Regions from separate parts of the Homo sapiens genome. Here all the other regions are linked to region 1. The links are contacts of gene promoters, found by promoter capture Hi-C in blood cells and fetal thymus (Javierre and others, 2016). All regions are on one chromosome and are shown on one strand. The core of a region is centred on a gene start or on the middle of the fragment in contact, and the rest is flanking DNA. Distances in the headings are between cores, read along the strand shown.

Region 1 (3,871 bases), core at 772-3,271:
TTCTACTGAGATTTTTGCTCATGTTTACCCTTTACTTTCAATTATGTGTGAAAATCAGAGTACTCTCTTATGTCATACAAACTTTAATATCATTTTTTTCCTTTATTCCTTCAGTGGAACCTTAAGTATTGGCATTCCTCAAGATTCAGTTCTTGATCCTCTTTCCTTTTATTATTAACCACGCAAGCCCTTCCTTGGAGAGCTTACTTACTTCCAGGGCCTCCTTCAACTGTCACTTTCACAAATGACTTTTTTTTTTTGAGACGGAGTCTCGCTCGGTTGCCAGGCTGGAGTGCAGTAGCGGGATCTCGACTCACTGCAATCTCCGCCTCCCGTGTTCAAGCGATTCTCTTGCCTCAGCCTCCCGAGTAGCTGGGATTACAGGCGCACGCCAGCACGCCCAGCTAATTTTTGTATTTTAATAGAGATGGGGTTTGACCATGTTGGCCAGAATGGTCTCTATCTCTAGACCTCGTGATCCGCCGGCCTCGGCCTCCCAAAGTGCTGGGATTACAGAAGTAAGCCACCGCGCCCGGCCACAAATGACTTCTTTTTTTTTTTTTGAGACAGAGTCTCGCTCTGTCTGCCAGGCTGGAGTGCAGTGGCGTGATCCAGTTCACTGCAAGCTCCGCCTCCCGGGTTCACGCCATTCTCCTGCCTCAGCCTCCGGAGCAGCTGGGACTACGGGCGCCCGCCACCACGCCCAGCCAATTTTCTGCATTTTTAGTAGAGACGGAGTTTCATCGTGTTAGCCAGGCTGGTCTTGAACTCCTGACCTCAGGTGATCTGCCCGCCTCTGCCTCCCAAAGTGTTGGGATTACAGGCGTGAGCCACCGCGCCCGGCCCACAGATGACTTCTAAATGAATGTCTCCAGTACTGATCTCCTCAGAACTCATTTCTTGATGATTTTTTACATTCACATTTCTAAATTTCTTGTAGGAAACCACAAATTAGTGTCTTTCAACTAAAGGACATTAAAAGAAGACTAAGGTCAGGTTTAGAGACAGACAAGTTTGTGTGTATGAGTTAATGTTTGCATATACTGCAAAGATAAACCAAATTAATTTTAGATTTTTGTTGCTTTATATTAATCAACTTTTTCTATACGTTAAACTTGGTCCTCAGTTTTTAGGGCATATGAGTATAGAAACCCAAGATAGCTTATCATCAGGCTGATAACATGTGCTTTACATTTTTCAATCTTCCAAATATTTCATAATATATTATCTTGAATATCAATAGCACACTTCTATAAGTGTTCGACAACTTATAGAAAATATGCATTTCTAAAATTCAAGTTGGCAGACCGAAAAGAATACCACACAGTTTCCTAAAGGCTTGTGACAGTAAGTTAGGCTGGACTTTCAACATAATGGAATATTTACCAAATAAAAGGCCACTGATTTTTGTATTAGACAAAGACATCTGGAAATTTCTAGATGGATTTAGGGATTCTGGTCATTCTAAGGAGAATCTAGAGGTAAGCCCCATCTGACTCATGGGCATATTCCAAGTTATCATTTCCTTTCCTACATCCTTACAAGGTTCCAGGAGAATCTGTCAATGGCTCTGAAGCCAGGCTCAGGAGGGAACTGGTATTCAGCGAATGGGACACTTTGCTTCATTCCTTCATTATAAGCTCCCCTGCAAGCTTTGTGCAGAGGGGCGGGAAAAGGGGCTATCACCCCCTTAAATGAATAGCCGAGTTGGTATGTAATATAAGATCTATTTTGCTTGTTATTCATTAATTGGGAAGCAAACATAGGTAAAATCACATAATGGTGGAGGTTACCCCGTTTGAAACAAACTAACCACAGTCACTATGACACCCCCAGCTGGTGGCTAGCCCGACCAACCTTCCCAGCTCCGCGCGCCCAGTGGGGGCCGGAAAAGCGCGGGAGGGGGCGTGGCCCCGAGAAGGCGGAGACAAGATGGCCGCCCATAGCGCTTGGAGGACCTAAGAGGCGGTGGCCGGGGCCACGCCCCGGGCAGGAGGGCCGCTCTGTGCGCGCCCGCTCTATGATGCTTGCGCGCGTCCCCCGCGCGCCGCGCTGCGGGCGGGGCGGGTCTCCGGGATTCCAAGGGCTCGGTTACGGAAGAAGCGCAGCGCCGGCTGGGGAGGGGGCTGGATGCGCGCGCACCCGGGGGGAGGCCGCTGCTGCCCGGAGCAGGAGGAGGGGGAGAGTGCGGCGGGCGGCAGCGGCGCTGGCGGCGACTCCGCCATAGAGCAGGGGGGCCAGGGCAGCGCGCTCGCCCCGTCCCCGGTGAGCGGCGTGCGCAGGGAAGGCGCTCGGGGCGGCGGCCGTGGCCGGGGGCGGTGGAAGCAGGCGGGCCGGGGCGGCGGCGTCTGTGGCCGTGGCCGGGGCCGGGGCCGTGGCCGGGGACGGGGACGGGGCCGGGGCCGGGGCCGCGGCCGTCCCCCGAGTGGCGGCAGCGGCCTTGGCGGCGACGGCGGCGGCTGCGGCGGCGGCGGCAGCGGTGGCGGCGGCGCCCCCCGGCGGGAGCCGGTCCCTTTCCCGTCGGGGAGCGCGGGGCCGGGGCCCAGGGGACCCCGGGCCACGGAGAGCGGGAAGAGGATGGATTGCCCGGCCCTCCCCCCCGGATGGAAGAAGGAGGAAGTGATCCGAAAATCTGGGCTAAGTGCTGGCAAGAGCGATGTCTACTACTTCAGGTACCTCCCTGGGGGCGGGGAGGGGGTGGCGGGGTCAGGCCGGGGTCAGGGGTCAAGAGCGGGCCTGGGCAGAGGATGAGCGCTGGGGCCCGGGGGGCATGTGGCAGGGACAGGCTGGTTTGGTGGTGGAAGGTGGCGGAACCCTTGGGTGAGAGTTGACCCCAGTGCGGTGGGAGGCAGTGTCAAAAGGTGAGGGCCCGCAGGAGGGCATCTTATGTGGAAGGCGTCGGGGAAGATGGTTTGCGAAGAAAGGGTTAGCCTGGCAGGGATGGTTAGTCCACTGAAGGGTTAAAAGGAGGTGTAATTCATCGAAACTATAAAACCCAGTCACTGTTGGCTCCTGTCCCAGCCTGTCCCAGATTCATCATCACAAGTGTTAAGCATGCACATGTGGAAGAATGAGCTATCTACAGTAACAAGGTTTCATTTACTTCATCCAAGAAAGTTTTGTATAAAGCAGCTATTTGGAATGCCTGAAGTTTTTTTGGAACTTCTTGGTATTGCAGAATATACTCTTTTGAAACTGACACACTGTACTAAGTTTTTAGACTCCTAGACCAAAATTTGCTCCCCAGGGAACATTTGTCAATGTCTGGAGACATTTTCGGTTCTCACACCTGGGGAGGGTGTGATACTGGCATCTAGTGGGTAGAGGCCAGAGATGCTGCTACATATTCGATAATACAAAGGAAAGCTGCCACAACAAAGAATGATCTGGCCCAAATTGTCACCTGTGCTGAGGTTGAGACATCCTGTTTTAAATGATTCAAGGTTTTTCACCTTAGTGTAATCTTGCAATCCCGTGGTCATGCTGCTGATGTCTTCAGTTTGTGTGACCCAGTAAGCTCAAGAAAGTGCCTATGGCAATTGACATCCGTGGACTTAATACACATTTACTAAATTTTGTAATAAGCCATGCTATTGATAGAAGATAATATAAACTTGTATTCAGTAGTTTGGAGGTACGTGTTTGTGGACTGACTGAAGCATTTTTCAGGGAATGTATATGGGTATTGGAGACAATTGTCATTTAGCTATTGTAATAATGTTATAAAGGATTTCCTGTCCTCTTCAAGTAGCTCTGGGAAAATGTGTCTGTACACATACCATGCTTATGAACTAAAAATACTTTTAACTAGATTGAAAAGGTTAAAGAAATGTACATACACATATATACATACATATGCACACACAAGAAT
Region 2 (3,871 bases), core at 661-3,160, 3.4 Mb before region 1:
CTGTAGTCCCAGCTACGGGGAGGCTGAGGCAGGAGAATCGCTTGAACCCAGGAGGCGGAGGTTGCAGTGAGCCAAAATCACATCACTGCCCTCCAGCCTGGGGGACAGAGCAAGACTCCGTCAAAAAAAAAAAAAAAAAAAAAAAAAAAAAAAAAATCCAAGGTGCTCTGGCCAAGTTTAAGACATAGATTGTCTCACTCCAGATAACCGGTTTAGGATTTCCAGTTGGAAAGATGTCAATATTCCTTTGGCCCCTGATGCTGTGAGACTGTTGCAATTATTCTGGAAGGCTGTTGTAAGCCCTGAAATGTCTCCTTGTTTCTTTTCCATAAGAGGATTAAAGATATTGGATCTGGCTTGTGAAGTGAATGTGGGAGGGTTTTTTAGTCTAGCATTTCTCATCAGGAATCAATTCTCCCAGTTGACAAGAATCAACCTTTAGAATAGAGGTTGATTTGCCCACTGGGAGTCATCTTGCAGTTTCATTATAAAATGGTTCTGCTGAGCCAAGCTGCATAATGAATAAACCAGTCTATGGAAATGCTATAGGAGGTTTTCTATTACCATCCATTTGGGGGTTCCCACCTACCTTCAGCTTCCTTATTTAAATTTTGTGTGAACAACATAAAAACTTTGTGTTCATTGAAGAGTTTAATAAAAACAACACAAAGGACTGTTTCTAAAGGAGCTTTGAAAGTTCAAGATTCTAGAAAACTTATATCAAGATTTTATCACTGCAAACATCTTGAGTAAATAGAAACTCAAAAGAGCTCTTTTATATTCACTGTATTTGTCAAAGACTGAGCTATTTTATAGGATTTTGTGGCTTGGGGTGAAAGTATTTTTATGACCTGTTCTAACAGAAAAAAAAAAAAACCCAAACCTGATTAAGATATCATCAGCTGAGCTTCTGAGACCCCCCGAGACCCCTTGGAGCCTCAACTCCGGCCGGGCATGGTGGCTCACGCCTGTAACCCCAGCACTTTGTGGGACCAATGCAGGCGGATCACTTGAGGTCAGGAGTTCAAGACCAGCCTGTCCAACATGGTGAAACCCCATCTCTACTAAAAATACAAAAATTAGCCAGACGTGGTGGCAGGCGCCTGTAATCCCAGGTACTTGGGAGGCTGAGACAGGAGAATTGCTTGAACCTGGGAGGTGGAGGGTGCAGTGAGCTGAGATCATGCCATTGCACCCCAGCCTGGGGGACAGAGAAAGACTTCATCTCAAAAAAAAAAAAAAAAGTCTCAATTCCTATAAACTGATACATGATCGTTCTTCAAACTAACCAAGCGGACTTCATTGCTTTTAGAGGACACAATTAATTCTCTCTGAAAGTTTCCCCACCTCTATAGAGAAAATGTTTTTCTCTCTTTGACTCTGTCTTCACCTTTCTGAACAGCTATCCCAAACCCCACATCGTACCCAGATCAATTCAGTGAAAAAGCTAGCCTGGGCTAAAGTTAATTGTACCTTTAAAAAGCAATAGGGCTGGGCGCAGTGGCTCACACCTGTAATCCTAACACTTTGAGAGGTTAAGGTGGGCATATCCCTTGAGCCCAGGAGTTCGAGACCAACCTGGGCAACAAGGCAAAACCCCCAAACCCCGTCTCTACAAAAAAAAAAAAAAAAAAAAATTAGCCAGGTGTGATGGTGTGTGCCTGAAGTCCCAGCTACTTTTGAGGCTGAGGTGGGAGGATCACCCCTGTCTCAAAAGAACAAATAAAAAATAGTCGGGCGTGGTGGTTCACGCCTGTAATCCCAGCACTTTGGGAAGCCGAGGCAGGCAGATCACCTGAGGTCGAGAGTTCAAGACCAGCCTGACCAACATGGAGAAGCCCCGTCTCTACTAAAAATACAAAATAAGCTGGGCACGGTGGCGCATGCCTGTAGTCCCAGCTACTTGGGAGACTGAGGCAGGAGAATCACTTGAAGCTAGGAGGCGGAGGTTGCGGTGAGCTGAGATCGCTCCATTGCACTCCAGCCTGGGCAACAAGAGCAAAACTCCGTCTCAAAAAAATAATAATAATAAATAAATAAAATAAATAAAAATAAGAAGCAGCTCTCCCTCTCCCTCTCCCTCTCTCTCCCTCTCCCCTCTTTCCACGGTCTCCCTCTGATGCCGAGCCGAAGCTGGACTGTACTGCTGCTATCTCGGCTCACTGCAACCTCCCTGCCTGATTCTCCTGCCTCAGCCTGCCGAGTGCCTGCAATTGCAGGCGCGCGCCGCCACGCCTGACTGGTTTTCGTATTTTTTGGGTGGAGACGGGGTTTCGCTGTGTTGGCCGGGCTGGTCTCCAGCTCCTGACCGCGAGTGATCCGCCAGCCTCGGCCTCCCGAGGTGCCGGGATTGCAGACGGAGTCTCCTTCACTCAGTGCTCAATGGTGCCCAGGCTGGAGTGCAGTGGCGTGATCTCGGCTCGCTACAACCTCCACCTCCCAGCAGCCTGCCTTGGCCTCCCAAAGTGCCGAGATTGCAGCCTCTGCCCGGCCGCCACCCCGTCTGGGAAGCGAGGAGCGTCTCTGCCTGGCCGCCCATCGTCTGGGATGTGAGGAGCCCCTCTGCCTGGCTGCCCAGTCTGGAAAGTGAGGAGCGTCTCTGCCCGGCTGCCATCCCATCTAGGAAGTGAGGAGCGTCTCTGCCCGGCCGCCCATCGTCTGAGATGTGGGGAGCGCCTCTGCCCTGTCGCCCCGTCCGGGATGTGAGGAGCATCTCTGCCCGGCCGCCCCGTCTGAGAAGTGAGGAGACCCTCTGCCTGGCAACCGCCCTGTCTGAGAAGTGAGGAGCCCCTCTGCCCAGCAGCTGCCCCGTCTGAGAAGTGAGGAGCCCCTCCGCCGGGCAGCCACCCCGTCTGGGAAGTGAGGAGCCCCTCCGCCCGGCAGCCACCCCGTCTGGGAAGTGAGGAGCGTCTCCGCCCGGCAGCCACCCCGTCCAGGAGGGAGGTGGGGGGGTCAGCCCCCTGCCCGGCCAGCCACCCCATCCGGGAGGTGAGGGGCGCCTCTGCCCGGCCGCCCCTACTGGAAAGTGAGGAGCTCCTCTGCCCGGCCAGCCGCCCCGTCCGGGAGGGAGGTGGGGGGGTCAGCCCCCCGCCCGGCCAGCCGCCCCGTCCGGGAGAGAGGTGGGGGGGTCAGCCCCCTGCCCGGCCAGCCACCCCGTCCGGGAGGTGAGGGGCGCCTCTGCCCAGCCGCCCCTACTGGGAAGTGAGGAGCCCCTCTGCCCGGCCAGCCGCCCCGTCCGGGAGGGAGGTGGGGGGGTCAGCCCTCCGCCCGGCCAGCCGCCCTGTCTGGGAGGTGAGGGGCGCCTCTGCCCGGCCGCCCCTATGGGAAGTGAGGAGCCCCTCTGCCCGGCCACCACCCCGTCTGGGAGGTGTACCCAACAGCTCATTGAGAACGGGCCATGATGACAATGGCGGTTTTGTGGAATAGAAAGGGGGGAAAGGTGGGGAAAAGATTGAGAAATCGGATGGTTGCCGTGTCTGTGTAGAAAGAGGTAGACATGGGAGACTTTTCATTTTGTTCTGTACTAAGAAAAATTCTTCTGCCTTGGGATCCTGTTGATCTGTGACCTTACCCCCAACCCTGTGCTCTCCTGAAACATGTGCTGTGTCCACTCAGGGTTAAATGGATTAAGGGCGGTGCAAGATGTGCTTTGTTAAACAGACGCTTGAAGGCAGCATGCTCGTTAAGAGTCATCACCACTCCCTAATCTCAAGTACCCAGGGACACAAACACTGCGGAAGGCCGCAGGGTCCTCTGCCTAGGAAAACCAGAGACCTTTGTTCACTTGTTTATCTGCTGACCTTCCCTCCACTATTGTCCTGTGACCCTGCCAAATCCCCCTCTGCGAGAAACACCCAAGAATGATCAATCA
Region 3 (3,871 bases), core at 693-3,192, 3.4 Mb after region 1:
GGTATGGCGTCCTGTGTGTGGCATTGCTAGGTTAATTTATAGCTACTTGTGAAAATAGCAAGCAGTTTCAAGAAATGATTACAGGCCAGGTGCAGTGGCTTACACCTGTAATCCCAGCACTTTGCGGGGCTGAAGCGGGCGGATCACTTGAGGCCAGGAGTTCGACCTTTCCCTGGCCAATATGGCGAAACCCCATCTCTACTAAAAATACAAAAATTAGCTGGTCGCAGAGGTGTGCGCCTGTAATCCCAGCTACTTGGGAGGCTGAGGCACAAGAATCCCTTGAACCTGGGAGGTAGAAGTTGCAGTGAGCCGAGATTGCACCACCGCACTCCAACCTGGGCGACAGAGGGAGACCCTGTCTCAAAAAAAAAAAAAAAAAAGAGACAATTACATAGCTCAAGTCGGGGTGGGAAGAAGTAGGACATAACTGCTGTCTCATATTAATGCCTCTCTGGGCCTGATAATTTAAAAGGGGTCACATTACTTAAATAAGAAGTATTTATATATATTCTTTTCTTTCTCAATGTCTTTTTCACTTGCACTAAATTGAGAGCAACCTGACGAAAAAGTTAAATTATTTAATATGTAAAGGAATAGCATTTTGATTACTTTGAAGTATTGACAGTATCTCAATTAAGTTAATAAAATCTTTGTAGATTACTTATGTGAATCTTACTTTCATAAACAGATAAGCTTTGTTTCTATGATCTACATGGATTTTACTGTGGTAAATAGAAAAGCTTTGTTTCTATTGGTATACCAGAAAGGATATTCCTCAAATACTTGAAGGTGCTAAAAATTTAGATCTTTTAAGATATTTAAACCTTTCCCACATCAAGTTTGTTTGTATACCAATTACTGCCATTTGTCAGTTGCAAAAGTCAAACTTCAAATTAATCCTTGTCTGAATTACCATATATTCAAAATTATGAGAGTCAATTAACTTTTACTACATATAAAAGATTGTTATTTGGATGAGGATGAGCATATCTAAAGTGAAGAGATGGAAGCTAATTGGCTCAGACCACGACAGGAGATCTTTGAAATTGTCTTTCATTTTCCAAAACCATTGCTTACATAAAGCCGTCCTGACCTGTACCGTTGTGGTGATGGTTTATGAACAATAACAGGCAGGTTGAGCTAAGCAGATGGTATTGGAGAGAGAGGGAGACCCTGCCTTGGGGGCTGGGGAGTGGAACGTGTGCAGATGACAGGGCTAGGAGAAATAAGGCTAGAAAAATAAAGTGGGGCAGAGCTTGGAAAGCTTTGAGGATCTGTATGAGGAGCCTGAACTTAAAAAGTTCTTGAGGATTCTAGGAAGATCCGCAAGATGTGAAATGATGTGAAGTGCACAGAGAATAAAATCAGGGCAATTTGTTTTGATTCCTTAATTAATTTATAAACTTCTTTTATTTTTCATCTATTTGATCTCCTTGGCCATATTGTGCCCAAGATGTGCATTCAGAAAATATTCTAAAGGCCGGGTGTGGTGGCTCATGCCTGTAATCCCAGCCACTTTGTGGGTCCGAGGCGGGTGGATCAGTTGAGCTCAGGAATTTGAGACTAGCCTGGCCAACATGGCAAAACCCCGTCTCTGCTAAAAATACAAAAACTGACCAGGTGCGTTGGCACATGCCTGTAATCCCAGCTACTCAGGAGTCTGAGGCAGGAGAACTGCTAGAACCCAAAAGGCAGAGCTTGCGGTGAGCCGAGATCTCACCACTGCACTCCAGCCTGGGTGACAAAGCAAGACTCCACCTCAAAAAAAAAGTGTGTGTGTATATATATATATATATATATACACACACACACACATATTTACATATACATATATTTATACATATATATATGTGTATGTGTATCTATATATAAAATTGTTTATTGAACCCAAACCAATGAAGTGACAGGATTACCAAGAAACATATGCTCGAGGTTGAAGCCATGAGACTCTGGAATTTTTGCAAATCTTCTAGGGTCTCTCTCTGTCACCCAGGCTGGAGTGCAATGGCACGATCTCAGCTCACTGCAACATCCACCTCCTGGGCTCAAGCAATTCTCTTGCCTCAGCCTCCCTAGTAGTTGGGACTGTAGGCATGCATAGCTACACCCAGCTAATTTTAAAATGTTTTATAGAGATGGTGTTTTGCCGTGTTGCCCAGACTGGTCTTGAACTCCTGGACTCAAGTGATCTGCCTGCATTTGCCTCCCAAAGCACTAGGATTACAGGTGTGAACCACTGCACCTGGCCTGCAAATCTTGTTGCTAATTGATATTAAAGATAACTTGGAAGACAGAGGGCAGGTGGTTCTTCCTTCCGCCATTACCAGTTCAAATGAATAATGTGGCCCCAAAGCACATGATGCTGAGTAACATCGGTATAGGTTCCCCTTCATTACTTTCTCTTTTGTTCAGATCTGCAGGTTGTGGAACCCCAGCCTCAAAGAACTGGCTGGCTACTTTTAGAAAGCCCTAAATTCAAAACTTGAAAGCAGAAAAAAATAGAAAATGATTTTTCATTTGTATTTCCTGTAAAACAACCAACTCTTATTACCTAACTTTAAAATCTCATTGATTTTACAGTTTCCGTCTTTATGTCACCTTTCCAGAAGCTTATTGATTAAACAGTGTGTGTTGTCTTTATTTACCCCCTGCCCACAACCTAGCCTCACTCCACAGCACATCTCCTGGGTGTGCCCTGGAGCTTCCAGCGTTGGAAGCTTTCTGGTTGATAATGCCTATTTTGATTGCAGCAGTAAAGTCACCAAGGACTAGAAATCCCCTGCTTCCCACTTTAGCAACTGAAGCTCATTTTGTTTGTAATTGCTAGATATTTTAGGCGGAAGAGGAATGATGGCTGGATGTGGGGAGAGGAGGGAGGAAAAACATCATGAAGGACTCTAGCTAAGAGCTTTCCAGAAAGACAACGGCTTTCCATTCAGTATTTGGAGTTTACTTGTCTAAAATATTTTAGCAAAATTGCTATAGCTCTAAGCTGCATTGTCAAGTCACACCATGAAGACAAACATCTCGTGTAGCAGGTCCTTGCAAGGAAACAGCAAAGGGAAGGGGGAAGGGTTACTCCCTACTGCCAATGACTGGTCATAGCCAAGCTTTGGCTATTAAATTAATTGCCCATCAACATCACAAATGCCCAGGGTAGGGGGGCCACTAAAATAATTATGGTAGATCAGTCCCTTTCATGACCATTAGTGCAATTCTGCAAAGGCTCCCAGGCCACTAACTCTTTCAGCACATCATCTCAAGAAGTATCCTAACTGTACTCTTAGATGACCATTTGGGGTACATGTTTGGGAGGGGAGTTGTAAATAATTTCCTACACTGATGATGTGGTGTGCCTTAGTGATGGGTAAGGCCACATTCTTATCATCAGTAAAGAGATCATGCTATCATTAGGAGCTGCCCAACTGGAAGAGTGTCACCACCATAATTCTTTATTAATTATAACTCATTGAATAGTGGTGTTACCCCAAGAAGTTGCTGTGGAGACCTTCACCCAATGAGTGACCATCTTGTGCACAACAGAGAAAGTCTATTGTCATAAACAAGTTAACACCCTACCACACACAAATTACAGTAGTACTAAACAAAATGTCTATTTACTTAAGCTACTATTACATTTAATTAGTTGCTGGGAAATAAGAAATGCATCTTCTAACAAGCTAACTCATTATAATTCCTGTCTTGCTTCTGTAGAATCACATTCAAGTGTTACGAATGCCTCAAACAATTGTTTGCTTCCGTGAAAGTGAAAAGAAACACTAAAAATGTGATAAGGATTTTAAAGACTCAGATAAATGAAAGAATAATTTGCTAAAAGCCCATCATGTGCCAAGTACTGTGCTGGGGG
Region 4 (3,871 bases), core at 734-3,233, 3.4 Mb after region 1:
TAATCTCTGACCTCATTTGCTGGGGAACTTGAATATGTTCCTTTATCCTTCTGGTTTCCTCTCCTCCCCTGACTCATAGGGAATACAAAAGAATTGATTCTTATGAAAAGTGCCAAGTAGGCACTACTACACAGTTATCTGAAATGTAACTCACTTGGATGTATAATGAAAGCTTCTTTCTGCATAGATTAACCTCTGGACTGAGGATATGGTTGTATGATAAATGATTAACATCATTTCTGGACAAAACGTGCAAATTTAAAAAGTTTAAAGTTGAAGTTACTTAACTATAAAAAAAAGTTGTTGACAACATTCACCCCTAGTGTATTAATGAATTTTTCTTTCTTTTTTATTTATTTATTTGAAACAGAGTCTTACTGTGTTGCCCAGGCTTGAGTGCCATAGTGCAATCTTGGCTCATTGCAACCTCCACTTCCTGCGTTCAAGTGATTCTTGTGCCTCGGCCTCCTGAGTAGCTGGGACTATAGGTGCATAATTTTTGTATTTTTAGTAGAGACAGGGTTTTGTATTTTTAGTAGAGACAGGGTTTCACTATGTTGGCCAGGCTGGTCTCTAACTCCTGGCTTCAAGTGATCTGCTTACCTCAACCTCCCAAAGTGCTGGGATTCCAGGCATGAGCCACTGCACCCAGCTGGATTAATGGATTTAATAAATACTTCATTAAGTAACTTTATGAAAGGGAGTGTACTAGGGATTGAAAAGAATATAAAATTCAATAACACTGTCCTTGGCCTTGTGGAGTTTGCAATTTGGGATAAGAACTGGGCTGTGTGCACAAGTTACTGTAATACAAAGTAAAAGGTAACAAATGCTTATAAGGGGGAGTTTCGTGGAAGTGCCAGGAATAGGGGGAAAACATTTCAGGTAGGGAATATCAAGGAAGGCTTGTGTAGTAGATGTCATTTGTCATTTTATCTGAGTCTTGAAGGATAGCCATAGTTCTGATAGGTCAAAATGAATTCCAGACAGAGAAGTAGATGTGAAATCTTAGAGCTTGTTCTGTTAGCAGGAATTTGGAACAGAAGAATGTAAGCAAGACTAGATTGGCAGGTTGGGGCTCAAATGTGGAAGCCTTCAATACCATGCAAAATAATTTGGTCTTTGTTCTGCAAGCAATGGAGAGTTAGTAAGAGTTTTTGGAGGTTGCAGGGGAATGGGGTGACAGTAGTGACATGATCAAAATGTGGTTTAGAAGTATCATTCTGGAGTGATATCAGGAACCAGGTGACCATGTAGGAGGGTAGAACAATACCCTAGACTAGACCAGGGGAATGGGAATGGAAAGGAAGAGATGGAACACAGAGCTCTGCAAGTTTGACAGAGAGAGGGAGGCATTTTTCTAAAGTTTTAAGAGTAATTGGTTTTTCAAAGAGATGTGAGAAAATGGGAAGTGATCATTCTTTGGTCAGGCAGAGTAACAGAATCAGGGAGGCCCAGCACTTTGAGAGGCTAAGGCAGGCAGATCACCTGAGGCCTGGAGTTCGAGACCAGCTTGGTCAACATGGTGAGACCCTGTCTCTACTAAAAATGCAAAAATTAGCCAGCCGCGGTGGCGCACACCTGTAGTCCCAGCTACTTGGGAGGCTGAGGCAGGAGAATCACCTGAACCTGGGAGGCAGAGGTTTCAGTGAGCTGAGATTGTGCCACTGCACTCCAGCCTGGTGACGGAGTGAGATTCCGTCTGAAAAAACAAAAACAACAACAACAACAACAACAACAAAAAAAAAAAACCCAAAAAATAGAATCAGGGAGAGTCTTAGAAACACAAACAGACTGCTTGATAAAGAGCAGCCCGCGTGTTCTGCAAGCTTGCATTGTCCTGGGTTGAAAGTCAGGTCAGAAGGAAGCAGGTGATGAGGCATTGGTGAGCTTCCCTTTGGAAACAGAAGCAAACTATGAGTTTATCTATAGTTTACCACTGGTTTCTGTGCCATGGGAGAGGTGATAAAAAAATCTCCCTAGGAAAAGGGATTGGACATTCTTTCCTTTGACTTAACTTTGACTTTGGCGATAATCCTTGGATGAGGAGCGGAACCCTGGCTTCACCCCAGGAGGTTGCAGCAAAGATGGGAGGAGACTCCAGCAGCTGAGTAGGCCCAGGTAGGAAACAAGCTTTGGGGTTGAGTAGTGGAAAGGTCTGTAAGGCCTCCCAACCTGGGAAATAGATACACTTGTTAAGGATTGAAAAACCAGCGTGTGGAAAGGTGAAGGGTTCTATTTTGGACAAATTGAATTGGAGGTGCTGGCTGTACGAAGACAGACTAGTCGTGGGTAGCCAAGCCTGGACTGATGCGGCTCATTGGTTTGAAGCCCCGTTTGCATCAAATGAAAATAAGATCTAGGCTGGTCGCGGTGGCTCATGCCTGTAATCCCAGCATTTTGGGAGGCCGAGGCGGGCGGATCACGAGGTCAAGAGATGAAGACCATCCTGGCCAACATGGTGAAACCCCGTCTCTAATAAAAATACAAAAAATTAGCCAGGCGTTGTGGCGGGCGCCTGTAGTCCCAGCTACTCAGGAGGTTGAGGCAGGAGAATGGCGTGAACCTGGGAGGTGGAGCTTGCAGTGAGCCGAGATCGTGCCACTGCACTCCAGCCTGGGGACAGAGTGAGACTCTGTCACAAAACAACAACAACAACAAACAAACAAACAAACAAAAAAACAAGAAAGAAAGAAAAAGAAAATAAGATCTAAATTGGGTTGGGCATTGTGGTTTGAGCCTGTAATCCCAGCTACTCGGGAAGGTGGAGGGATCGCTTGAGCCCACGAGTTTGAGACCAGCCTGGCAACAGAGCAAGACCCCATCTCAAAAAAAAAAAAATCTAAATTAGGAAGGGTGGTCTTGATAGGCAATATATGAGTGCAGTGACCTCTAGTCCTATCAGAGACAGAGGGTCCTGCCCCAAGGCCCTTGCAGACTCAGATCACATTTCCGTGTCAACGCAGAGTCCTATGTCAGGGATGGATAGTCTGTCATCGTAAGCACTGGCATAGGTTTTCTTGAAGGAGAAATGATTTCACTGAACAAGATGTTCCAGATTTCTGTTGCAGGAAGGATTCTGCTCATGTGCAGTAGGGAGAGGTTTCTACTGAGCCAGCTGATTGCTCTCCTGCTCTCATACAGACCATACTGATTTTCTAGGGAAGGAGTTAACATGGCTTCTTGGAGCTTAAGTCTGCCTGTGGTAGTTGCACATGCCTAGCTCAGACTTCTTCCTCTTCTTCTTCTTTTTTTTTTTTTTTTTTTTTTTTTTTGAGACCGGGTCTTGCTCTGTTGTCCCAGCCTGGAGTGCTGTGGCCGATCTCAGCTCACTGCAGCCTTGACCTCCCAGGCTCAAATGATCCTCCCACCTCAGCCTCCAGAGTAACTGGGGCAACAGGTGTGTACCACCACACTTGACTAATTTTTTTTCAAATGCCCAGGCTGGCCTCTAACTCCTGAGCTCAAGCCATCTGCCCTCCCCGGCCTCCCAAAGTGCTGGGATTGCTGGGATTACAGGCATGAGCCGCCGTGCCTGACCAAGCTCTGGCTTCTTTAAGGGTATCAAGTGAACCCATTCAGTAAGAGGACTTGAAAAGCAACAGGTGAGAGAAGAAGTGGAAGCACAGGCTATGGGGCCAAGTATCACCCACCTAGATAATAGGCTCTTGGCCATCCTCTCACTCCTCTCTGCTCCTTGTTAGGTTTGACACAATCTCTTTCCTTAATCAGTTGGCTTTTAACCCAACTCACTTTTGCCTTCTGCTTCCTCACTTTCTTTCTTTTTTTAAGACAGAGTCTTGCTCTTGTCACCCAGGTTGGAGTGCAATGGCATGATTTCAGCTCACTGCAACCTCTGCCTCCTGGGTTC
Region 5 (3,871 bases), core at 1,013-3,512, 3.4 Mb after region 1:
TCCTGAGGCTATCTAGGAGCCCACCAAGAGTTGCCTCATTAGAACAAAAGATGCCCCTGTCACTCAGGAAATTCCAAGGGATTTAGAAGCTTTTTCTCAGGAACCAGGGCAGAGACCAAATATACATTCCTATTCTATCACAATGTCACAGGCTTCTTTTCCTTTACAATATAGTGACATATGGCTATTGAGTACTTGCAATGTGGCTATTTTAAGTTGAGATATACATTGGATTTGCAGACAGTGCAAAAACATGTAAAGAATGGAAATATCTTAATTTTTAAAATATTGATCACATGTTGAAATAATATTCTGTATATTTTCGGTTCATGCAACATATTATTAAAGTTATTTTTTAAACCTCTTTTACTTTTTAAATGTGGCTACAGAAAATTTAAAATTATATACGTAATTCCTATTTGTGGCTTGCACTCTATTTCAGTTGGATCATGTGGGTCTAAGGTGACCCTGTTAGAAACACATACAAGGAAGCTGACGGCCGGGGCTTCTGGAAAGCCTTTTTTAAAAAAAAGAACAGATTCAACTGGCATGTGTCTTTGGCTGTTTTGCTTCATCTCACTTTTTGCCACAGATGTGTAGTGGCATGGCACCCATCATTGGGCCATAAGATGACAAACAAGAGAATGAAGGCCTGCACTCTAAGGATGTCAGAGGAGTAGAAGAGCCTGGGTTCTTCTCCAGTGCACACACATGCATGCTGGAAAAGTTAATACAGCAACCTAACATGTTCCTTTCATGTAACAGCTGCTGAGTGACATATTACATATATTGGGATCTGAGCAGTGAAAAGGCAGGAAAAAGACACATGTAATTGGAAAACATGAGTAATCATTAGTAGAAACATAGTGTCTAAACCTTCTGAAATTTCCCTCTGCTGGTTTCTACAGGCAAGAATTACACTGGCGGATATAACTCCTGGGTTAAATAAAGTAGTCATTACTCTGCAACTGGTTGTGAATTTTCTGCATGATCATCTTAAGCTTTGAAAAATACTGTGCTTTCTTGCATTTACCTTTTATCCCCTATCTGTCCAGCATTCTTGCTTGAATTGAGCTATTTCATCTTTAAATGATACTATTTTGGGCTGAGTGAGGTGGCTCACTCCTGTAATCCCAGCACTCTAGGAGGCCAAGGTGGGTGGATTGCTTGAGCACAGGAGTTTGAGACCAGCCTGGGCAATATGGTGAAACCTCATCTTTACAAAAAAAAAAAAAAAAAATTAGCCAGGCCTGATGGGGCATGCCTGTAGTCTTAGCTACTTGGGAGGCTGAGGTGGGAGGATCACTTGAGCCCAGGAGGCGGAGGTTGCACTGAGCTGAGGTCGCATCCCTGCACTCCAGCCTAGGTGACAGAGTGAGACCCTGTCTCCAAAAAAAAAAAGCTACTTTGATCCAGTAATAGTTATAGTGAGACACTAAGATGTCTCATCAGTTAAAAGACCAAGGGGAATTATATACATCCATAGGTCTCCAGAAATAATGTAAGTGTGTAGTTATTTTTCAAGTATAGAGTTTTTAAAAATGAATGTTAAGGTCTAATATATAGTAGGTCAGGGCACACAGAATCAAAACAGTACTATGATTATCCTTACTACTATTATTACTAATCTACTACTAGTAGTTTATACTTGACATCCTCAATTTGACCTAATAAGAGTTAATGAGCTATTCTAAAGGAGGAAATATAAATGAAGATATTACGACAGGAACAAGATTTTTGTGCATTTTAACAGTAACTGTTAGAAATGATTTTTAGCTCCCAACAACAGAAAACCCAATTAGAGTTGATTTATACAAATATGGGCTTTTTCACAAAAATGTGAGGGTAGGATTTAAGGCTAAACATGGCTCAATCACTTTCTGGATAATCCTTGAGAGAAGGAAAGAATCTCTTCTAAATGCAGGGTCTCTCCAGTAAATGAAGATAAAACCTGACAATTTTTGACTAGAACTATGGCTGAGCAAGAAATATAACTCCAAGCAGAGTATAAGTTATCCATAAATTAGACACCCCAATTATAGATAATCAGGGAATGATAGAAGGAAGGTTGTTTGGATTCCTATGGGGTGGGAGTGGAAGGCATGGAGGGGATGTTTGAAAATTATCTGGACAAATGCCTCAGTTCTTCAAATTTTTTCTTTTTGCTTTTGTTTTATTTTGTTCATTTACTTATTTACATCGAAGGAAAAAGCACACTTTGGGAGTGTGGAATACTTGAATTCTAGGGCTAGCTCTCACACTGTCTTAATAAGAGGCTGGATGTCTTTTTCTCCGGTTAGGTGGACACAATTAAACTTTCCCTATGTATCTCAAAGGGCATTGAAAAGAGGAATGAGACACAAAATATGCAAGAGTTTTGTGAATATTAAAAGGATACAGATGCAAAGTATTCTCATGCAGGCTGTCTGCCTGGCATATAGATGATGTTTGATAAATAATAATTACCATTCATTGAGTACTTACTATTTGCTAAGCGTTGCTCTAAGGCACCTAGTGTATTTTATTTATTTTTACTTTTTTTTTTCTGAGACAGGGTCTTGCTCTATTGCCCAGGCTGGAGTGCAGTGGTATGATCTTGGCTCACTGCAACCTCTGCCTCCCAGGTTCAAGCAATTCTTCTGCCTCATCCTCCTGAGTAGCTGGGATTACAGGTGTGTGACACCACACCTAGCTAATTATTGTAATTTTAGTAGAGACAGGGTTTTGCCATGTTGGCCAGGCTGGTCTTGAACTCCTGACCTCAGGTGATCCACCCTTGGCCTCCCAAAGTGCTAGGATTGCAGGCATGAGCCACTGTACCCCGCCCACCTCATGTATATATTAAAATTATTTAATTATCCTAACAACGCTATCAAGTAGGTATAATTATTTCTGTTTCTTTCTTTATTTTATTTTAGAGATGGGGTTGGGGTCTTGCCATGTTGCCCAGGCTGGTCTTGAACTCCTGAACTCAACGAATCCTCCCATCTTGGCCTCCCAACGTATTGGGATTACTGGCATGAGCCACCGTGCCACTCCTGTTTTTGTCGTTGTTGTTGTTCAAGATAGGGTATTGCTCTGTCACCCACGCTGGAGTGCAGTGCCAATTGTAGCTCATTGCAGCCTTGATCTCCCAGGGTCAAGCAATCCTCCTGCCTCAGCCTCCCAAGTAGCTGGGACTACTGGCATGTACCACCACAACCAGCTAATGTTTTTTATTTTTAGTAGAGACAAGGTCTTGCTATGTTGTTCAGGCTGCTCCTGAACTCTTGATCTCAAGCTATTCTCCCACCTTGACCTCCCAGAGTGCTGAGATTACAGGCATGAGCCACTGTGCCCAGCTGGTAGGTATAATTATTATCCCCATTTTACATATGGGAAAACTGAGGACTTAGAGGTTGATTCATCCAAGGGTACCACTAATAAGTGGAAAGAGGATACAAACTACACTGTACAGACTGAATATTTTAAAATATGTTTATGTACAGTTCAGTGTCTTGGAAAGATTTGAAAGTAAGCTTGGAGCATTATGTCACCCCACTCCCCAACCTGGGAAAGACTTCCCCGCTGTAAGCTGTCAATTAAAAACTGCTTCGTAATTCAAGGACAAATTCTAATCTCAGCTCTTCAGTGAACACTGGTGTAATAGTATGTAAACGCACACTGGAATCACCAGGGAGCTTTAAACAAATTGATGCCTACCTTATACCAATAAAACAAGAATGTTCCGATATGGGTCTCCAACACCCATGTTTCTTAATAGTTCTCATGTATTTCTGTTTTGTATACTTTTATACAACATATTAGAAACTCCATGAGAGTAGAGATTTATAAAAAGTATTTCTTCCTGTATTCCTAAGTCCTCACATAT
Region 6 (3,871 bases), core at 747-3,246, 3.4 Mb before region 1:
CTTGCTCTTTCACCCAGGCTGGAGTGCAGTGACTTGATCTTGGCTCACTGCAACCTACACCTCCCAAGTTCAAGCCATTCTCCTGCCTCAGCCTCCCAAGTAACTGGGATTACAGGTGCATGCCACCACACCCAGCTGATTTTGCATTTTTAGTAGAGATGGGGTTTCACCATGTTGGCCAGGCTGGTCTCGAACTCCTGACTTCAAGTGATCCACCCACCTTGGCCTCCCAAAGTGCTGAGATTACAGGCGTGAGCCACCGTTTTTATTTTGAGGAGTGTAGCTCTGTCACCCAGGCTGGAGTGCGGTGGTGTGATCATGGCTCACTGCATCCTTGAACTCCTGGGCTTAAGTGATCCTCCTGTCTCAGCCTCCCAAGTAGCTAGGACTACAGGTGCACACCACCACACCCAGCTAATTAAAACAAATTTTTTTTCTTGTAAAGATGGGGGTCTCATTTTGCTGCCGAGGCTGGTTTTGAACTCTTGGCTTCCAGCAGTTCTGCCATGGCTTCCCAAAGTGCTGGTATTACAGGCATGAGCCATGAGCCACGAGCCACCGTGCCTGGCCAGAACCAAAATTTTCTTATTGTGTGTTTATTGTTTTTTGCTATATGATCATGGGTATGATGACTGAGTGCTGTGTAACCTGAGGTTAGTTGGGGATGGGCATTAGATACCTTCTTCATCTGGCAGCCTGCCAAGCAGGGCCCATTCCATTTCTCCTTGCCCCTCCCAGCCCCTCTCCCCACCTCAGCCATATGCACTGAGGGTTGGGATTTGATAGAAACTGAAGAACTGATTCAGTTTGGAATCCTAGAAGAAAAATTATTTCATTTGTGTGTTTTTCTAGCAGCAACTCATTAATATAAGTAGGCTTAATATTATTAAAATTAAATGAAAGTCTTTAAATTCTACTAAGTAACTTTAGATCATATTTATATAAAATAAATGGGATCATTTTAGAGAATACGGATAGGCAACAAAAAAAACCTTAAAACATTATGAATAATCTTACCACCCAATATTTTGTCTCTCTCTGTCTTCTTAAAAAAAAAATAGAGACGAGGTCTTACTGTGTTGCTCAGGCTTGTCTTGAACTCTTGGGGTCAAGCAGTCCTCCTGCCTCAACCTCCCAGAGTGCTGGGATTACAGGTGTGAGCGACCAGCCAGGCCAATTTTGTCTGTATGACTATTAAATATTCACTCTGTATGTATTTAGCAAGATGTGACCGTACTGTACATCATATATTTATAATGCCCTCTTTTTATTTACTTTATCATCATAAATACTTGTCTATATTATTTTAGTAACTGAAGAGTATTTTATTAAGTCATAAACTACCTTGACCAACATTCTGGGACACGTAGGTGATTTCTAGTTTTTTAATATTAGAAATGGTGAAGCAGTGAGTGTCTTTGTGGATTCTTCTGATGGCAGTCATTATGAAGGCATTGTGCTGCTTAATGCTTGGGCTGGACTAGACTGCAATACTAGAGTAGACACTACACTAGGCCAGGGGTTGACATTAGTTCTGTAAAGGGTTAGGTAGTAAATTTTTCAGGCTTTGTAGGCCAAACTCTGTCTTTTGCTGCTATTCAACTCCGCTGTTGTAGTGTGAGAGCAGCCATAGATATTACATAAACAATGAGGGGAGCTGTGTTCCAGTAAAACTTTATTTACAAAAACAGGCAGTAGGGGTGTATGTGTGTATACAGATTTAGTGCATGGGCTATAGTTCACCAAATTCTGTTCTAGAGGCATCATAGACCCACAGGCCAATCATGTCTTAGAGGTTTAATGAAGAGCTGGGATCGTATTACTTTTTCTTGAGGCTGACCATATAGAGTAGAATAGAATTATTGTTTATTAATTGACAAGCTTAAGTTTCTGTTACGTACATTTAATATTTCACGGAAAAACCTTGTATTTTGAGAGTCCTGGGATATAAAAATGGCAAAATGTTGAAACCTTTCCAAGTGAGAAGTTTTAAATATATTTTGCTGTATACACTTTTATATTCAAACAAACGGAACATGAACGTTCAGACCTTGGTCTCAGGTGTGTTCTGTCTGGAGGGAGAGGAGATGGAGACCCTTGACTAAAGCTTTCACTTCACATTCTGGAATAGAGGGGTGTCAGACTGGGGCTTACTAATGCGCTATTCATCATGCACAACACAGTTTTGAATTAAGTGCATGTGTATTTAGGTATTTTCAAGTCGTGTGCATCTCTTTCATGTGTAAGATCAACATGCGTTTGCAAAACCATGAGCAGGGCAGAGTAGCATCCCCTTTAAAGCCACTCTTGTTCTGAGCTCAGGTGTTATAGATGAAAAACAGCTCTAAATCCCGTTTGCACACTGATACCGTCTGTGGCTTAGGTAAGTCTTTTAGCCTGAGGTTTTTTTAACCAGTAATCTGTTAACTGGCAGCAATCCATGGGAAAATGCACTTAATTTATTGTGAGTCACAGATTTTGAAGGTGAAAGACAGGATCCCAGGAGAAGACTAGTGGTCTAAGTAGAAAGATTAAACGAATATTAGTTTCACAAAATAATGCATCTGGAATTTTCAAATATCAAGGAAAGAAAACTCAACACACCCGTTAATGCAGTTGTAGGACTCGAGCATGGAAGAGTTATATAACAACCACATCTTCAGTGCAGTTGCTTGGTTGTTTTAGAAGGGGATTAAGCCCTCTTTCTCTAAGACAGTGATTCTCAATAGGGGGAAGGGGGCATTTTTGCCTCCTGGGACAAATTTGGCAATGGCTGGAGACATTTTTGGTTGTCACACTGGGGTGGGGTGTGTGCTATTATTGTGTACAGGTAGAGGCCAGGTATGCTGCCAAGGCTCCTGCATTGCACAGGGCCGTCCTCTACAACAAAGGACTCTCCAGCCCCAAACGTCAGTAGTGCTGAGGTTGAAAAACCCCGGTTGAAGGCATTGATGTGAAAAGGGACCTTAGTTAATCTTTATAATGGGGTCTAAATGAGAAAATCCCTGATCTCATTGTAATGCCATATTTCTCCTTCCCCAGGAATTGATTCGTATTCTGAAAAAGTAGGTTGAGAATTCAGATTTTTACCTCATCCACTTATACAACAGGTTTGATCAAGAAAACAGTTTCTACCTGTTTACATTTGACATACCCTGCTGCCTTACGTTATTGCCAAATGTTGTTAATAATTGTTTAAAAATTGCCCATTAAGATGTCACCATAAGCCTGGGGCAATGGCTCACACCTGTAATCTCAGCACTTTGGGAGCCTGAGCCAGGAGTTTGAGACCAGTCGGGGCCACATGGCGAGACTCTGTCTATATAAAAAATTTTAAAAGTAGCCAGGCATGGAGGCATGTGCCTGTGGTCCCAGCTACTCAGGAGGCCGAAGCGGGAGGATCACTTGAGCCCGGGAGGTCGAGGATGCAGTGAGCTTTGTTTGTGCAACTGCACTCCAGCCTGGGTGACAGAGTGAGACCCTGTCTCAAAAAAAAACAAAAACAAAAAAGATGTCATCATAGTATCTTTAGTTTTCGAGCACATAAAGAATGTTTCTCTATACAGGCTCTGTCTCAGCAGCATTGGTTTAGTCACTGCAGTGGTCAGAGGTAGTCTGGTGTAGGAGATTCAGGAAGTAGACCCCTCAGCGTTCATAATAACGGTGTTTAGATAAACTTCAGGCTGGTTATTTTTCAGCTGCTTTATTGAAAGTGAATAGAGGGTATAACCATATAATGAAATATTATTTAGCAATAAAGAGGAGTGAAGTGTACTGATTCATGCTACGACACGTAGCATGAACATTTTATGCTGAGTAAAACCAGACACAATCATGAACATTTTATGCTGAGTAAAACCAGACACAATCA
Region 7 (3,871 bases), core at 831-3,330, 3.3 Mb after region 1:
CCTTGGTCTCGCAAAGTGCTGGGATTACAGGCATGAGCCACTACACCCAGCTCACTCAGTTCTTATAGACTACTACATTTTTCAATTCTAGAATTTAGTGGTACTTGTCTTAAGTTTTTAAGATTGGCTTTTATCTCTATAAACATAATAAGCATATTTGTTTCATAGCATTTACGGTATATCCAGGGTTTCAGTGTGTCTGTTTTTCTTGTTTTTGCTGGTTTTGGCTTCTGTTGTTATGTCTCTTTATGTGCCTCATTATCTTTTTTTTTATTTTTCTACTTAGGTTGTACTTGAAAATTTATAAAAATAATTTGAGGACTAGGATGCCATTATCTTATTTCAGAGAAATTTTTGTTTGCTTCCGCTGGGCACTTGTGGGCACTGGCAGTCCCGAACAGAGGCTTGAGGTTTTCTAAATCACCCATTGCTGCTGCAAACTATACCCCCAATCCAAGGTACAGCACTTTAGGGTTTCAGTCCAGAGTGGGAGGTAGTGCCAGACTCGGACATGGTGCCGATCTTGTCCACTTTCCATGAAAAGCACAGCTGTACCTCTTAGCCACTTTCTTCCTGGTCTATATTTCCACTGTAAAACTGGCTTCAAAAGCTTGTTCTGTGCATTTGTTCCCTCCCTAACCTTGGTCCAGAATTCTCCAATATTCCATTAGAGTCAATATCTTATCCCTTTGACCCTTTTAAAGTCTTAAAAAAAATTTTCATCCGGTTGTTATAGTTGCTCAACTAGGTCATTCAAATATTAACAGTTTTTTTTTTAAGTTGCTTTATAAACAGACTTTCAGCCAATCCTCCTGCTTTTAGGCTCATTTCTGCCTCAAATGCCAGGTCATTTTATTTTATTTTTTTGAGACAGTCTCACTTTGTTGCCCAGGCTGGAGTGCACTGGCATGATGATGGCTCACTGCAGCCTGGACCTCCCAGGCTCATGCGATCCTTCCATCTCAGCCTCCTGACTAGCTGGGAATAGGGGTGTGCACCACTACACCTGGTTAATTTTTTTAATTTTTGGAAGAAACAAGGTCTCACTATGTTGCCCAGGCTGGTGTCAAACTTCTGGCCTCAAGCAATCCTCCTGCCTCGGCCTCCCAAAATGTTGGGATTACAGGCGAGAGCCACCATGCCTGACCAGGTCATTTTTAATGTCTATATTTATGGTATCCATAGCTGTTATTTAAGTTAGGATTTTAAAGTGTTATATAAAAATAATCAACTGCTAAATTCCTTAATACTCAGATATGATATAAAATATGGTTTTGCTGAATTTAGAACAACCATTCGACCCAGCAATCCTATTATTGGGTATATACTCAAAGGAATATAAATCATTCTACCATAAAGACACATGCATGTGTATGTTCACTGCAGCACTATTCACAATAGTAAAGACATAGAATTAATCTAAATGCCCATCAATGGTAAACTGGATAAAGTAAATGTGGCACATATACACCATGTGTATAAATAAAAAAAAATACTATGCAGCCAAAAAAATGAATGAGATCACGTCCTTTGCAGTAACATGCATGGAGCTGGAGGCTATTATCCTAAGTGAACTAACACAGGAACAGAAAACCAAATGCCGTATGTTCTCACTTGCAAGTGGAGCTAAGTGATAAGAACTCATGGACACAAAGAAGGGAACAACAGACACTGGGGCCTACTTAAGGGTAGAGGGCGGGAAGAGGGTAAGGATCAAACAACTACCTATCGGGTAGCATGCTTATTAGCCGGGTGATGAAATAATCTATACATGAAACCCCCTGCAACACACAATTTACCTATATAACAAACCTTCATATGTACCCCTGGAACTAAAAAAAAAAAGTTTAAAAAAATAGCTTTGTTAAAATCAGCAGAAAAGTATTTCCTTTCCTGCCCTCATGTCTTTTAGGCCATAGAAATGTTACTGAATAGAACACATTAATTTTGAACATTATCAAGTTCTAGAAAGAGATTATGGATGACAGGACAGTTTCTATTATAGAAGTTAGGTCTCAAGAGACATATAGGAAAACATGAGGGGCAAAAAAAAGGAGAAAAATATAGAAAAGTACCAGGATATTCACAGACTAAATACCCTCTTTACTTTGACAACAGTTATACATGCTTGCCTGATGCCAGCCTATATAAACTTGTCATATCTTAATTAGAGCCTGCTGTCAGCTAGTCAGGGAAAGACCTACCAGAAGAAAAAAGACACAAGTGCAAAAGAAAATCATACAAAATTCCTGTTTTACTCAACACAGTCTTGCTTAAAAGAAAGAGACAACTGAGGATCACTAGAAATTTATGGAAAATACAGCACAAAGGCAGAAACATTGAAAGGAATCCTAATAATTCTCCAGAAAAAGCTCAATGAGTACTGTAACCATTTTTGCTTTAAAAGTAGCTATTTAGAAAGAGCAATTCTAGAATAAAAAAGGTATTGGGAATAAAAATAAGTTGTTGAACTGAGGTAATGATAAACGATATTAAGCAATTATTATTAATTTCCTTTGGTGTGATACCAGTATACTGGGTGTATCTTACAAAATAAGAACACCTGGCTGGGCGTGGTGGCTCACACCTGTAATCCCAGCACTTTGGGATGGGCAGAACACCTGAGGTCAGGAGTTCGAGACCAGCCTGGTCAACATGGTGAAACCCCATCTCTACTAAAAATACAAAAATTAGCTGAGTGTGGTGGTGCATGCCTGTAGTCCCAGATACTCGGGAGGCTGAGGCAGGGGAACTGCTTGAACCTGGGAAATAAATCTATCAGTCACGATGGTAACCATCAGAAGAACTCCCAGCAAATTATTGACAATGGTTCTGAGAAGTATGATTAAGGAGGTACACCAAGGGGAGATAGAAAGGGTTACATAATTTTGTGCCATTCTGTTCCTCTGCATTTTTACAAATCATGCAATATATTATTTCTATAATAAAAACAAATTTAATTAACAATATGAATAAATTTTCAGAGAAAGTGGAGCATGCTGAATTTGATGAATTCCTTGAGTTTCCTTGTACATTTATACCAAAATTCTGTAATACTGTTGCTCAGTTCAGTCTCCCATTCCAAAGAATTCCATTAAGTATTTTTACATAATTAACTATTGCTCTATAACATAAATAATGGTGGCATTTACCTGGAAAAATATAAACATTGTTTCCTTGACCTGGTGTAAAGACTCGCCCATCTGTAAGTTTCACTGGCCCAAATGGACTGCCACTGGCAAACAAACACCTGCCCTGTTAATAAAATGAAATAACTTCAATTTTGTTATTTTCTGTGGATGAGAAAATTGAGGTGAATTCATACAAAATCAAGTCCTGAAGTAAAATAGACCAATATATTACTTGGAAGCAAGGCATAATATACTATATAACAATCTTTTCGTTACAATCCTTTTGTTAGAATGAGGTTTGTTTCATGTGTAGTATACATTCAATAAATAAATAATAAAGTTAAAAATCATTTATTACTAAAAATTTAAAAACCAGACACTTATTTTTAAGAAATTTAAGGCCAGGCACAGAAGCTTACACCTGCAGTCCCAGCACTTTGGGAGGCCAAGGTGGGCAGATCACTGGAGGCCAGGAGTTTGAGATGGCCTGGAACAGAGTGAAACCCCTATCTCTACAAAAAATACAAAAAATACAAAAAATTAGCTGGGTGTGTTGGCCCATGCCTGTAATCTCAGCTACTCAGGAGCCTGAGGCGGGAGAATCACTTGAACCCAGGAGGCAGAGGTTGCAGTGAGCCGATAGCACGCCACTGCACTCCAGCCTGGGCAACAGAGCGAGACTCCATCTCAAAAAAAAAAGAAAAAGAAAAAAAAAAGAAATTTAAAATGTAGACGGCCAA

What was found. Contacts are between HindIII fragments. The CHiCAGO score rates a contact against its expected background, and 5 or more counts as called.
Region 2: a fragment that was not itself captured here is called in contact with the fragment with the promoter of MBD2 in region 1 in 2 of 17 cell types (neutrophils and activated CD4 T cells); the score reaches 9.5 in neutrophils.
Region 3: a contact is called between a fragment that was not itself captured here and the fragment with the promoter of MBD2 in region 1, in 1 of 17 cell types (naive CD8 T cells). The highest score is 6.3, in naive CD8 T cells.
Region 4: a fragment that was not itself captured here is called in contact with the fragment with the promoter of MBD2 in region 1 in 1 of 17 cell types (M0 macrophages); the score reaches 9.0 in M0 macrophages.
Region 5: a contact is called between a fragment that was not itself captured here and the fragment with the promoter of MBD2 in region 1, in 7 of 17 cell types (total CD4 T cells, activated CD4 T cells, total B cells and 4 more). The highest score is 11.2, in total CD4 T cells.
Region 6: a fragment that was not itself captured here is called in contact with the fragment with the promoter of MBD2 in region 1 in 5 of 17 cell types (total CD4 T cells, M0 macrophages, total B cells and 2 more); the score reaches 8.0 in total CD4 T cells.
Region 7: a fragment that was not itself captured here is called in contact with the fragment with the promoter of MBD2 in region 1 in 2 of 17 cell types (total CD4 T cells and activated CD4 T cells); the score reaches 6.5 in total CD4 T cells.

What each region holds. Positions count from the first base shown.
Region 1 is chr18:54,222,819-54,226,689 of GRCh38, reverse strand. MBD2 (methyl-CpG binding domain protein 2) reads left to right here and starts at 2,021. Exons shown (of 7, transcript NM_003927.5): 1 at 2,021-2,672. The coding sequence starts at 2,131. RefSeq lists enhancers at 97-637, 638-1,180 and a silencer at 1,931-2,320. The HindIII fragment of the contact is 9,949 bases long and covers 1,655-3,871 here.
Region 2 is chr18:57,632,095-57,635,965 of GRCh38, reverse strand. The region is part of intron 1 of ATP8B1-AS1 (ATP8B1 antisense RNA 1); the gene reads right to left. Among named protein-coding and RNA genes, the nearest start is that of ATP8B1-AS1, 3.7 kb to the right of the region's middle. RefSeq lists an enhancer at 2,248-3,096. The HindIII fragment of the contact is 5,144 bases long and covers 1-3,871 here.
Region 3 is chr18:50,831,442-50,835,312 of GRCh38, reverse strand. No RefSeq gene overlaps it. Among named protein-coding and RNA genes, the nearest start is that of MRO, 13 kb to the right of the region's middle. RefSeq lists an enhancer at 2,610-2,719. The HindIII fragment of the contact is 1,345 bases long and covers 1,270-2,614 here.
Region 4 is chr18:50,850,200-50,854,070 of GRCh38, reverse strand. No RefSeq gene overlaps it. Among named protein-coding and RNA genes, the nearest start is that of ME2, 27 kb to the left of the region's middle. The HindIII fragment of the contact is 304 bases long and covers 1,832-2,135 here.
Region 5 is chr18:50,872,284-50,876,154 of GRCh38, reverse strand. No RefSeq gene overlaps it. Among named protein-coding and RNA genes, the nearest start is that of ME2, 4.9 kb to the left of the region's middle. The HindIII fragment of the contact is 2,517 bases long and covers 1,004-3,520 here.
Region 6 is chr18:57,575,078-57,578,948 of GRCh38, reverse strand. The region is part of intron 2 of FECH (ferrochelatase); the gene reads left to right. Among named protein-coding and RNA genes, the nearest start is that of FECH, 9.7 kb to the left of the region's middle. The HindIII fragment of the contact is 226 bases long and covers 1,884-2,109 here.
Region 7 is chr18:50,931,642-50,935,512 of GRCh38, reverse strand. ME2 (malic enzyme 2) reads right to left here. Exons shown (of 16, transcript NM_002396.5): 13 at 3,153-3,255. Among named protein-coding and RNA genes, the nearest start is that of ELAC1, 34 kb to the left of the region's middle. The HindIII fragment of the contact is 2,935 bases long and covers 613-3,547 here.